Linked DNA regions of Homo sapiens: region 2 is linked to region 1. Evidence: promoter capture Hi-C in 16 types of primary human blood cells and fetal thymus (Javierre and others, 2016). All regions are on one chromosome and are shown on one strand. The core of a region is centred on a gene start or on the middle of the fragment in contact, and the rest is flanking DNA. Distances in the headings are between cores, read along the strand shown.

The links. Contacts are between HindIII fragments. The CHiCAGO score rates a contact against its expected background, and 5 or more counts as called.
Region 2: a fragment that was not itself captured here is called in contact with the fragment with the promoter of PHIP in region 1 in 1 of 17 cell types (naive CD8 T cells); the score reaches 5.0 in naive CD8 T cells.

What each region holds. Positions count from the first base shown.
Region 1 is chr6:79,073,680-79,080,545 of GRCh38, reverse strand. It overlaps PHIP (PHIP subunit of CUL4-Ring ligase complex), which reads left to right and starts at 2,292. Exons shown (of 40, transcript NM_017934.7): 1 at 2,292-2,517; 2 at 2,633-2,691; 3 at 2,817-2,846; 4 at 3,039-3,098. The coding sequence starts at 2,478. LOC124901346 (a long non-coding RNA gene) reads right to left here. Exons shown (of 2, transcript XR_007059652.1): 2 at 3,280-6,866. RefSeq lists an enhancer at 1,865-1,914 and silencers at 2,035-2,274, 2,405-2,574, 3,074-3,573. The HindIII fragment of the contact is 4,735 bases long and covers 1,367-6,101 here.
Region 2 is chr6:79,639,072-79,646,152 of GRCh38, reverse strand. All of the region lies in intron 1 of SH3BGRL2 (SH3 domain binding glutamate rich protein like 2), which reads right to left. Among named protein-coding and RNA genes, the nearest start is that of SH3BGRL2, 11 kb to the right of the region's middle. The HindIII fragment of the contact is 180 bases long and covers 1,428-1,607 here.

The sequences.
Region 1 (6,866 bases), core at 1,043-3,542:
TTACCCAGAGTAATATTATATTCCATGTCATAATTTGGTTTATTTTCAATCACAAGAATAAAACATCTATTAGTAAGAATCATACATTCCAAGCCTTCAAAACCAGAAAATCCCACTATAATTTTTAGTTTCTAAACTCTGTTTATTTGAAGAACTTCAAGATCGTGTAAAATATTACAATTATTTGAAGAACACTTTTTTAAAAGTTAAGCTAAAACAGCATCGGTCTTAGAAGTAAATACAATTTGCAAAAAGGCATACAAAATTTCCTATCTTTTCAGTCTATCTTTTCAAGCCTAACCACCTAGAAATAGGCTACTTTACCTATAATTGAATAGAATAAAGTGTCTTTAAAGATGCAAATATGTTCAGTATTTGAGAATAGCTATCTTAAAAAAAATAAGTTATTCTGATAACCAGGTTGCAATAGGACAAGTCATGGTAACCTTCCATTTTTAAGATTCAGTTACAAAAGGCAATTTTATATCCTATTATTCCAAAGGGTTTGAGGCTTTATTTCTTCTTCCTCATATGTATGATGATTTCTGGATGTTTTAGTATAGGGCATCACACTGGTGCAGCACACTTGGGCTTACAGTGCAGCCCAAGGCATTTGCAGCAAGTATTTCCCACTAGGAATGTAAGGAGCTAGGAGGTTACAAGGCTTGAGGAAACAATCTAGAAAACCACAATACAGCTTGTTGGTCCTTTCCCCACAAATAACCTTTTTAAACCAGACCCATAAAATGCAGTTTATTATCTAACATTTTTAAGGAGAATCTTTTGTTAAATGTTAACAAAAGAACGACTATCCAAATTCCCTTTAAAATGCAATCCTTAAAAAATATTGAACTCTCAAGTCTTTTTGGAAAGTGCTTAAATCATCTGGAGATAAATATCATTTGGTGTCCTTGTTTTCTAACAAATGGCTTTTTCTATTGTTTCCATTAATTTCACCCATATTCGTTTTTTTAAAAACAAGGCCCTTATCCTCATCAGCAAAACACAGATGTATGATTTAGCATATAAAATCGGTAATTACATACTAATTTACGAAAGATTTTTTTTTCTCCTTTTCGTCAGTTTTCAAGAAGTCTTCCCGTGATTAACTGTAAACAGGAATGGTTTACATCTCAAATTAGAAGCCATTAATTAGCATGACGAAGTCAACTGCAAGATACACAGATTATTTAAATTATTTAATCACTATTCACCTTGGCTAAACTGTAGTATACTCTTTCAATATCCTTAGGCAGGTTATCGATCTGTCACTAAATTACCTCCAGATCAGTTAGACATGAATATTAGCGTCCTTTCCTTTCCCTCAGGTTTACATTCTCCCTTCTCGTAAACACTTAAAAAAGCTTTAAGGTTCTTTAATTCCAAATACCTAATTAGCCATCACTAGCCTTTTTGTAATAAGGAAAAAGAGTATCTGAAGTACAAATCAAGAGTTCGCTTTGCCCGTTTAACAATAAAAAACATTTAAAAAACGTACGCCAAAGGCAATGGCAGTAATAAAAGAAATATGCAGAGGTGGCTTCAGCAAATAACGGGTTTGCAAAACGCAAGTGCTTAACAAAAAGCAGCCCAAACCTCTATTGCAATATACAGCACTCCAATAAATTACACAACACTTGCATAGGCTGCAGAAATAACGCAGGACAAGACTTACACAGATGCCAATCCGCAGCATTTATACACATGCACATGGCAAGAGACAGAAACCAAACACTATCATTCAACTCGGGAAGGGTAGCGCGATCCCGAGCTTGCCCAGCGTGAGAGTGCTCTCTGCGTGTGTGTCTGTGTACGCGCGTGAGTGAGACCCATCCTTGGGGCATTTCCCCTCTCTGGGCAGTTTTGCTTCATTTGTTTCATATTTCTGCTACATAGAAACTAACTTCCATCTCAGCTCCAGCCAGCGCCGCTGAATAGAGCCTGTGCTGCGGCTCCGTGTGCGTCAGATCCCTCCGCGGAACCGTCCCCGGCCCCCTCCCTGCCACTATCGGCCTCCACAGAGAAAGCGCCTTCCAGCCAACCGGCGGCTTGGGCTCCGACATCTTCTCCGACTGGAAATAAATAAATAAATCGCACGCCCTGCGGGGAGGAGCGGGTGGGGGTCTCACTGTGCCGCGTGCGGAGCGCTGGGGACGAGGGGTCGGAGGCACTCCTTTTTTAGCGCCGGGGGGCGGGGGCGCGGGCCAGAGCCGGGGCCGAGCCCTGGGCCGCGAAGGCGGCGGACTCCTTTCTGCGGCGGAGGGATCCGCGGCGGAGGCGGCCACGGCCGTAGTCGCTGCCTGAGAGTTGTTGTTTCCTCCTCCTCCTCCTCCGCCTCCGCCGCCGTTGCTTGAATGGTGGAGCCGAAGCTCGGCTCGTGAACACACACTGACAGCTATAGGGCAGGCGGCGGCACCGTCCCCGCTTCCCCTCGGCGGCGGGGTGTCCCGTCGGCGGCCCTGAAGTGACCCATAAACATGTCTTGTGAGAGGAAAGGCCTCTCGGAGCTGCGATCGGGTAAGTCGGGGGGCTGCCGGGGCCGCTGGCACCGGGCGATTCCGCCCGCGGTCCCCCGCCCCCCGCCGCCCGACCGCTCAGCCTGTGTGTCTCCCCGTCCCTCTCTCCCGCGCAGAGCTCTACTTCCTCATCGCCCGGTTCCTGGAAGATGGACCCTGTCAGCAGGCGGCTCAGGTACGGCGGCGCGCGGCGCGGGCCGGGCCGGCGCTCGCCGCTCGCGGGCGTGGGGGAGGGAGGCGGCGGCGGCGGGGCCGCGGCCCGGGGCGCGGGGCTCAGCTCTCCCCGCTTTGTTGTTGCAGGTGCTGATCCGCGAGGTGGCCGAGAAGGAGGTAAGGGCGGCGGCGGCCCGGCGCGTCCCGCCGCCGCGCGGCCGCCTCTGGGCCGCTGCGCCGCCGCTGCCGCCGCCGGCAGGGCGCGGGGCGCGGGGCTCGGGGTCCCCGCCGGGGCGCGGGGCGGGCGGGGGAGGGGAGCGGGCGGGTAGGGGCCGGGGGCCGGGCTCACGGGGTGTCCTCTCCCCGCAGCTGCTGCCCCGGCGCACCGACTGGACCGGGAAGGAGCATCCCAGGACCTACCAGAATCTGGTGAGACATTCACGTCGCAGAGCAAAGAAACTTTTCCCTGAGTCGAATAAAAATTGAATTTCCCGCAATTTTTTACAGAGACAAAAACTTGGCCCTAGAACGTGAAAGCTCCAAAGGCCATGGGGAGGGTTGGGAGGCCGGCGCGGGGTCTGCGGGGGCCAGTGGCCGGGGGTACTCGTACTTCGGGGCCGCAGGGGCTGCGGACAATTTATTTGTGATATTTTGTTAATGTGCTAGAAATAAAGATACGTCATGAGTGTTGTGCAGTGCAAGGCCGGAGGAGGAGGGGCCGGCGCGCGCGTCCGTGCGGGCGCGGGGGCGCGCGAGAGTCGGCGGCGGCGGGAGCGGCGCGAAGAGGGAGAGCGCGCTCGCTCGTTCGCTTGCTCGCTCTGCACGCGCGGCCGGCTCGGCTTTCTCCTGCCCTACACAATAGCTGGTGACTAACTGCTCCGAAGTGGCATTAGCATTTCACAAGCAGGCTATCCAGCCGCTGCGGTACCGTGGCAAGACATTATTTTTTCCCCCTCTGTCGTTTATTTTGTTTTCCTTAAATTCAGTCCTGGGTTTTTTGTTGGAAGGATTCTGATGTGTGATGATAGTTGGTCAGTGCTTCGTCTTGCATTTACTAAAACACATCTTTGCAGAAGTGTAAAGCCTGTAATTCCCTAAAACCAGAAGTTTAGTAGGCTTTTTTTAATTCTTATGGTATGCCTCTCGTTTAATTAAAAATTATTATTGGAGTACACTGAAGAGTTTTGATTTTTGTCCACATATTTACTGTGGGATGGAACTTGGCCTATGAAAGTTGTGTTTATATTGGGACATATTTTGTTTAATAGCTTAAAAACCTTAATTTTGTGGGTTGTCAAAATGAGTATTTTAGGAATCTTTAAAAATTGCTTTTCAGAAGTGGATTTATCACTTCAGTATTGTGATTGGAAGTTACTTTAAAGGAGCTATATTTTCTGTAACACTTTCTCCTAAACTGATACAGGTTCGTTGTGTGAATATGTGTGTGGGGCAGTTAAAGCAGTCGCACCGGACCCACCAAGCCTTTGAAATTTATGTAGTGTGTTGATTTTATGAGGCTTTTGTAACTGTTTTGAGATAGTTATGATTACTAATGTTACTTCATCAGAACTTCTCTAATGACTAGGAAGTTTCAGCGAGCTTAGAATGAGTGTCTTTTGTGAGGTGAAAGCAGGACATGATTATAATGGCGCTTTTTTTGGTATGTAGTGTATTTCCTAACTTTTGTGTATAAATCTCTTGTGGTTTAATATAAGATGTTGATAACCGCTCAAGGCTGTTGAAATAAGCAAGGGTACTGAGGTTTAATACATCTAATGGAGATTTAACAGTGTATTAGTGTATTCATTTTCACACTGAACGTGTGTTAATTTTCAAGGAGTGATTTGGGTTACTTTCATTCAATTCTTGGCCAAAGTGAATGGAGCTGGAAGTAAACTCCAAGATTTACTAATTTGAAATTAATTTTTAGGTTTACAAATACTTGATAGAAGTCTTCAGTGAATTTACATGTCTTCCTTGATATTTGAAAAAATTATCGCAAAGATTATAATACTCCATTTTTAAGATGGGGCAGGTTTTACAAAACTCGTCTTTGCATCTGCTTTTACATCTGTGCATCTCTTAAAAACCCACAAACCTTAAGTCACTGAGGAATGCTGCATTTTCTTAATCTTTTGGTAATGTTACATTTTTTAAATGAAGCAGCTTAATGTTATCTGGCTAAATTATGGTAATGGCTAATCCTCGTAGGAATATCATTTTGTTTTTTTGTTTTTTTTTTCAGTAAAAATGAGCTATCAATTTTGATTTTGAGTTAATTTAATTTTTGGGGGGAGGGTGGGGGGAGGAATTATTAGTAAAGTGAATTTCTATCCCTAGTCTGCATCGCAGATTTAAGATACAGTAAGCATTCTTTCTATCTATGTATTATGCTCAAAATTCACCTATTTTGAATGGAAGTGGTTTTTCTTGCTTGGAGTTTTCTCCTTACTAGAACAGGAACGTTGGCATACTCATCAGACAGTTTAGAAATCTTATTAGAACTTGGAGTTCTTTGACTCGTTTTCTCTTTTCATTCATTCAGCATATTGCTTACTCTATATCTACTGGATGCAAGGTACCATTTGAGGTGCTTTCTCATCCATCAAACTGTATATCTAGGTGTGTGAGTTAACTTTATTTTACCTTTTTAGTTGAGATTTAGTTAGGTCTAAAAACATTTGGAACACTGGATTTTTTTGTTCAATAGTTGATCTCGCTGTTTAATATCTAAGTCAGCACATGCAAAGTCTCTTGTACAGTATTTTCTATTTTAATTATTCTGACTTAAAAAGTTTTACGTTGTTGTATATCGAGTTGAATTTATTTAACATTGATTTGAAAATTACTTGTTGAGTCATTAGTTTCTACTCTACCTGGAAATGATTTGTTGTATTAACTAATAAACTGAGCAATATTTTAAATGGGAGAACTCATATATCACATCGCATTGAAATTTCTAGGAAACCTCAAATTATTGCTGCTTAAAATGGGGTGTAATATTTGTAGATGTGAATTTAAAAATAGTCACTGATCATCTGTAGTTAGTCTAGTTACAATCGCAATGGTTGAATTTTAATCAAGAGGAAAGTAGAATTTTAAGAGCAGTTTTAAAAGTTTGCAGGTTAAAATTGATGCGTTCATTTCAAGTGTGATTGAGAAAGGAAATGGTCGTATCTTATGGTTGTTTCTGTCTCTGGTATAAAACATGACTGATTATCACCATCTACCTTAAGATTTAAAACATTTTTAACAAAGTAAATGGAATTGGATAGGAAGCTAAAAGTTGTTTTTGGTACTATGGTATACGTTTAATTAGATTTTACATTTTTTAAAATATGAGATTTATTTTAAAGAAAAGGGGCACTTTTTCCAAGTATCAGAATTCTTAAACTGTAGAATAAAAAACTTTTTTTGGACGAAAGGAAAGCTTTGTCATTTGTTTATTTCTTAGTTTGAATAGTGAATCTAGTTAGTTTATTAAGTCTGCTTTCTAGTTGTCACTTAATGATGATTGCATATTTACGAGATCTAGAGGCAGAATTTTCAAGCATTTTACCGAATTTGGCACTCTCTTGATTACATTTTTTCTTGTAAGACTTCTCTTTTTTCCCCCCAAGAACTAGTTCATGTTTTGCCAATCTGTTAAAATGATTTAATTTTTTCCTTGTAAAATAGTGATACTTGCCTTTCTTAAAATTATTCCACTTTATTAGAAATCTTTTTTGTTTGTTTGCTTGTTTGTTTTAAGTGAAAGGATTGGGAGTCAGGAGATGTGGATTGTGGTTTTAAGCCCCGCTGACAGTTAAACTGTAGGTAATCTTGGGCAAGTCATGGAATTTCTCTTTGTCCCAGTTATCTCATTTGAAAAATAAGTGGATTGAAATTTTTTCAATCTGAAAATCTGTGATTTTGAACTAGAAATAGCAGTACATTGTATTTAAGAACTAAGCTTTATTTCATTCTTAGAGCTTAGTTTTCCAAAACACAGAAAAGTAGAAATCACATAGGTTACAAAATTATATAAATGCTTTTCATAGTGCCATTCTTTGGTGGTAATATCATTTCTTGTTGCAAAGATGATTTGAGACACTAACTACGTTGTAAAATGCCCCAAAATTACCATGATTTCCATCATAGTTTAAGTACTAGTTTTCATTATTGTTGGTCTCAAATTCAGAGATGAATAGGAATGAT
Region 2 (7,081 bases), core at 268-2,767, 570 kb before region 1:
TGGAGACATTTTTGGTAGTTGCAACCAGGAGGAAGGGTGCTACTAGCACCCAGTGGGTAGAAATAAGGCAAACTGCTTTATATCTACGATATATAAGACAAGCCCCAACAACAAAGAGTTGTCCAGCACAAAATGTCAATAATGCCACTGATGACAAACCCTGGTTTAGGGTATGATCAACTATTTTCAAGCTTTTCAAGGCAGTTCTACCCTAGAGTTAATAACCTCAGAGTAGCAGTTTTGAGATTACAGAGTGACTAGAGGCTGACACCATGCTAGCACCAAGCACATAGCAAATAGACAGGTACTTTTTAACCCCACAGTAGTCAACCTCTCCAAAGAATCAAATATTCAAATGCCAACAGAAGTCAGACAGTTAATAATGTGAAATAATGAAGCCAGCAAACAACTAATAACCATTTAAAACTATTATTTCCTTCCTTTAACACACACACACAAACTTGCTGGCTCCCATTCTTCTTGAAACATATATATAGCCTTCTCGATATAATCTTATGGTTTCCCACTTTTGATAGACATAGATGCCAAGAAATACTTTCTATTATAAGATAAAAGAATATACAAGCTCAGTAACAAATGGCTCAGAGTTGGGAAAATGGTGAGAATGATGAGGGGCTGTGTAGACACCAAGGATACAGGCCCTAAGGCAAGGGGGCATCACTACTCAGTTCCAGTGGATCCATGCCAAGATGCCATGATACCACAATGGAGTGAGGTGCCAGGATCAAGTAATCTTCAGATGTCTTAAGAAGAATGGGAAATCCAGGTTATGTTTGTGTCTAAGAAAGGTAACTCCCAGTATTTAAAATATTTGCTCAAAAGAATTTAAAATGGTATATTAACTCGAAAGAGGGTGTTTCAGACTTGCAACCAGATTGTGACTTCCAGCCTACACTAACCTTAATAAACAATGACAGTTTGGGGTATTCCTAAGGCTATGTTCCATTTAACTCAGGACCTATTTTTTTTTTTTTTTTGAGACGGACTCTCACTCTGTCTGGAGTGCAGTGGTGCAATCTCAGCTCACTGCAACCTACTCCATCTCCTGGGTTCAAGCAATTCTCCTACCTCAGCCTCCTGAGTAGCTGGGATTACAGGCGACTGCCAGCACACCCAGCTAATTTTTGCATTTTTAGTAGAGACAGGGTTTCACCACTTTGGCCAGGCTGGTCTCCAACTCCTGACCTCTGGTGATCCGCCCATCTCGGCCTCCCAAAGTGCTGGGATTACAGGGGTGAGCCACCGCGCCCGGCCAACTCAGGACCTATTATCTGATTATTTGAACATTATTTTTTCCTTAATTAAATCTTTATAGCTCATTTAAAGTTGAAAAAAATCAGAAAATTATTGCCAACTTCAATTTAAATGACACTCAATAATAATAATGGCTGCAATTTCATTAAGCTTCAACAACTTTACAAGTAGATTTTCTGAGATCCAGAGAAGTAAAAAGGCATGTTCAGCCACCTTGCCCATTAGAGTATCAGATCCATAATTCAAATCCAGGTCTTCCTGCCCCTGGAGTCTACATTCTTTCTACTCATCACTGCCCTTGTATCACACAAATTTCTTCTATCTACCAAGCTTATGAGGCTCTCTCAATAATTTACATATAAATAATCTAATATTAGAGAGATGGTTGACAATAAACAAAGCACAATGATCTTGGAGCAATTAAACTGGACAGATGAAGAGTGTAAACAGCAGCTTCATTGACCACTCCTGCAGGCCTCCTCCCTACCAGTGTGTGTTGACTGAATCTTTCCCTTTACAGATGGAGGCTGTCTACACTCCCCCAGACCCTCAATTCCCTCCCTTCCACCAACAAACCCAACTCTGGCCTCCTCCTTTCTACTCCCTCTCTTGCATTCAACTCCCTCAGTAGGCTGCAATATATTGATAAACTCCTTCCACTCACAAGAACACCTTTGTGCAGAGCATACAACAGGGCATAATCAGCATAGAGAACATTTCTCCTAGTAACCTAGGGTTCAAGATGTAAAGGATGAGGGCGCACACCTCCACAGCAACCATTTGTCCCCATGGATCTGTTGCCCAAAAGGCCCCAATATATTAAATATCTCTGCCTATGACCCCATCTCTGGGTTACAGCCATCCTGGCCAACCTTTCTTTCCCCGTATTACCTATTGCCCTCCCATCGAATCTTACTCCTTCCAGTTCAACCCATCAAGTTGGTTTTATTCAACTTTATCACACACAGCAAGAGAATCACATTCGAAGGAAATCATACATTTAGTTTCAGGACATCCAACAAAACATTAAACAGTCTCTTCGGAGCACTGCCTATTCTCATTTCCTTTAACTTCTGAAGTCTTCCTCTGGGACATATCTATAGGAGGAAGACGGTACAGATCTGGCTATCTCAACCTTTTGGGTTCTATGACAAGGCAAGTTGTTTAAAGTTTGGGTTTCTTACTCTTCTGTGAGGGGGCAGGGTAATTATGAATAGCTACTATACCAAGTTACTTTAAGGAGTACAAATAACAAATGCAAGCCCCCTAGTACTGCCTGCACATGTGAATGGTACTCATTATTATTATCACGAAATATTAGTTTTCAATTTTAAATCATACTCCTTTTAGCTTCCATCAGTCTCTGAAGAAGCAAAGCCATTGCTATCACATGATCTAAGGACATCATGCCTACAATTATCAGCTCAGCAGCTGAGTGGAGACCTCTGGAACCACTCCTCAGGAGTCCTGCACAATTCCCTCTCTTTATTACAGCTTGAGCTCAGACACTGTTATTCTAGCATGCTTGTTGCGATAGCACAACCCAGGTTCTCACCAGTCTCTTGGTCAGGGGCTCTTCTGGTGAGCAATGTGGGGCAATATAAAAAGTACCAGGCACAAAATCAGAAGAAAAGGGTTTGAATCTAGGTTTTACCGCTGAGCTGAATAATCCTAGACATGCTACTTAATTACCCTGTGTCTCAACACTCTCATCTGTAAAATGAGTATAAGAAATCATAGTTTGTAGGACAATTGTAAAGATGAAATGACATAAAGTAAATATTGTACCACATTGCTGGACACAGATAAAGAGTAATTGTTCAGCTGCCCTTTCAGTGTTCCAAAGCTCAGCACAATGGGTCCCCTCTTCCAGGTGTCTTTTTCCTTCTCCTGTCTCCCACATTTTTCCACAAAGCCCCTTACTGCTTTTACCATCATCTACCTGCCCATCTGCCAGCCCAACTTATGTTTCACAGGTATTCAAAATTCACAGTGTTCAGATTCACAGTCAGGATTCTAGGAAATTCCATTCATCTTCATTAAACACAGAAATCCTGGCCCTTCACTGTCCCCAACCCCCACCAAATTTGGGGTGACAGACAAGGCATGATGTTTGCAGAGGATATCCATCAATTCAACTTGGTGTTTCATATTCCTTTTCCCGGTTACTCACAGACTCAACATATTCTGTATCAGTTACAAGAATCTGAAAGACAGAGTCTAAATACATGAAGTTTAAGGCAGGGATGGCAAATACGTGGCATAAGTCCTGATCCTCTCTCTGGTACCAGAGCAGGCATCAACAATCAATCACACTGTTTTCCTGCTGATCCCAATCAAGGCTCCAAAACCCCTCTCCCGGCTCTCCAGGCAGCTACTATCCAACAGTCAGAGTTGTCATTTGGGATGAAATCTATACATTATTCAGCAATCCTTAGATCAAGCCAGGGCTCTAAAAAAAACATACACAGTATATTTGGTGTCCCTTAGATGCCAAAATCCTTGGATGCTCAAGTCCCTTATATCAAGTCGTATAGTATTTGCATATAACCTATGTAAAACATGGTATAATTTAAATCATCTGTAGATTATTTATAATATCTAATACAACGTAAATGCTATGTAAATAGCTGTAATACTATATTATTTAGGGAATGAAGACTAGAAAAAGTCTGTACATGTTCAGTACAGATGCAACTGTCCACTTTTTTTCTGATTATTTTTGATCCACAGGTAGGTGAATCCACAAATATGGAACCCACAGATACCAAGGGCTGACTGTATTATGTATAGCAAAGAATAGTGACTATGTGCATAGTAGTAAGCACTTTATAGGGAGTGAAAATATGATCTGAATGGGTCGTGCACAACATGCCATGTACCTATAAAATATCCAAACATTACAGCAGAACTCTAACTAATGGTATGTTTGGTGAATGGCCTGCTCAAATTATAATGTTCTTATACATTTAAGTGGAAAACCCTTTACACTTAAATTTACTAAAATCTCTCCTAAAATTATACCTGTATGCGTTCTCAGCCTAGTAAGTAGTATGTACTGTATATAATTTTTGGACTGTTAAGGAACTTACACAGTTCAAGGTCATTGTGATTTTTTTTTACTGTTATTACTACTACTACTACTGAAGATGATTATGATACAGAAAAAGTAGGTAACATGCACTGAGTTCTCAGTATGTCATGGCACTCAGCTAAATGCCTAATGCAAAATCATTCATTTCATTCAAAGCTCATAAGAGCTTTTCTATGCATAAAATACCATTCCTATCCCACTTACACAAATGAAGAGGCTAAGGTTACTTGTCTAAGGTCATGCCTTTCATCAGTGGCAGAGCTAGGATTTGGACTCAGCCCCCGCCTTAACCATAACACTGTTCTCTAATGATAGATTGCCATAGCCAGGACAGAGAGGTAGGTGCATGGGTTGAATATAAACTGACTCCAGAATTAAAGAAATCAGCGCATACTCAACCCAAACATTTATTTTGGCTAGTAAGCAGTTTGTTTCTCATAAAAGAACAGTGAAATCTAAACTCCCATCAATGAAGGGCCCAGGCTTATAAAGGTGGCCAATTCCCATTTGAAGAAACCACGCTAATGAACATAATTATTAAAAGAGAACCAGTGAAAGATAAGCAGAGACTGTGATTTAAAACAAACCACACACACACACACACACACACACACACACACACACACACACACAAAAGGGTGAGAGAACCACTGAGCTTTAATACACATGGGAATGTCATGAATGAAGAAGACCACACTCCCACGTCTTGTGGAACATGCAGAAGGAAAACAAGCTAACTCAAAAGCTATGCTTATTGCTCTTTGGGTTTTTTGTTTTGCTTTGTTTTGTTTTTAATATTAGATCAGTATGTAGCAATAGCTGCTGACTTTAACTATATTTGCATTTACCAAATACCACTGAACTGACCTGTCAATCAAGTCACCTAATTGTATGTCTCTTACTCTCAGTCCTCCACTCTCAAAGCCACTAGACTGAAGATGACAAAAAGTCATTTCATATTTGGGCCATGACCCAGTAGGAAATGGCAAACACATCCTAAATTAGTTAGAACCCCCTGCCCTCAGTCGCACCCAACGTTCCCTGTCTGCTCCAAGAGCTGAGAAGCAATGCTGGCAGAGGGCCCACCAAGACCCCACAGCAAAGCAGACACACCCTGCCGGATACCTTCCACTTCAGGGGTCAGCTCCAGGAAACAACCCCTTGGAGTTCTGCCAAATACTCAACCAGCTCAAAAGAGTAGATCCCCTTGGGAATAAGCTGTCAATAGTAACAAAGGTGACCAACAAAATTGTTCCCAAATTGTCCCAGAGGCTGTGCCAGCCTAAAAGTGCCTAAGTTTGTAGGGAGGTGGGGCCCCATCTGCCTGGATGCTGGCATCTGAGTTCAGCTTTCCATTCCACTGCAAAGCTGTCATGAACCAGAAGGGAAACATTCAATTAAGTGCTTTTCCAAGCTTTATTTCTGTTTTAGAGTTAGAAAATAAACCAATCAAATATAAAAGAGATAGCAATACTAACCCTTTAAATTACCACAGTCCACTGTGAAACTAGCCAGTGCTGACAGATGAAGTCAGATAAGCCTATTAAGAGAGGGAGACAGAAGGGAAACTGCACTGCCTTAAATTGGGTTGTGCAGTTTCTAGCTGGTACAGGCTTCCAACCTCCAGCTCCTCCCCTCCTGCCCTACTCCTCCAAGCCACCCCAGTGCCCCCCAAAAACTAACACATGGCACATATTCATCACTATCTAAAAATGCTAAACAGAAAGGCTCATTGATATGTTCTTAAGCTAAAACTAGAAGGAGGACCCTCAAAAGACAACTGTATATAACCTGAAGTAGAAGAGTCCCCACAAAAGTTAACAAGCACTTGCCATTTCACAGAAGAAAGAAAATGTTCACTAAATTTTTAAGGCTAACCTCTTTTTTTGCATCACGGATAAACAGTATAAAATAAAATCAATCACAGAAAAAAATGAATACAGGAATGTGGCTTAAATAGAACTTAAATCTCTAACTAACTCTCCAGCTAAAATAATACCCATTTAAAGGAATTCCTGCTGAAAAACTCCTGAAGCCTAAAAGGGTCTCCTGAGTTTAGAGCTTGGAGGGTGATTTTTTTAAAAACTGACATTTAGCAGGTGAAATAATAATTTCTAGACCCCATTTTTAAATATGCATTTCAAAATAAAGTATTTTTGTTGTTGGTGGTGATGGTTTTGGGGTTTGTTTGTCTGAGACAAGGTCTCACTTTGTCACCCAGGCTGGAGTGCAGTAGTGCAATCTCGGCTCACTGCAGGCTCGACCTCCCAAGGTTCAGGCACTCCTCCTGCCTCAGCCCCCCAAGTAACTGGGACTACAGGCACATGCCACCATGCCCCGCTAATTTTTATATTTTTTGTAGAGATGGGGTTTTGCCATGTTGCCCAGGCTGGTCTCGAGCTCCTGAGTTCAAGAGATCTGCCTGACTCAGCCTCCCAAAGTGCAAAGATTATAGGCATGAGCCACTGCACCTGGCACATAATAAAGTATTTTAAACTTTCATATATAGTGATCAGTAAGTCATGCTAATTTCTACTTTAGAAAGTGAAACATTCACTATGATTCTAGATTTTTTTCTATTCTGTCACCCATTTCTAATTTGATAGAAAAAAACACAATTCATTTAAGAACTTTTTATAAATCAAAGATGAAAAATAACTAAGGAAGAAATATTGTTTAGTTAATACCTCACACTGCTTCCTGTTGCCTGCT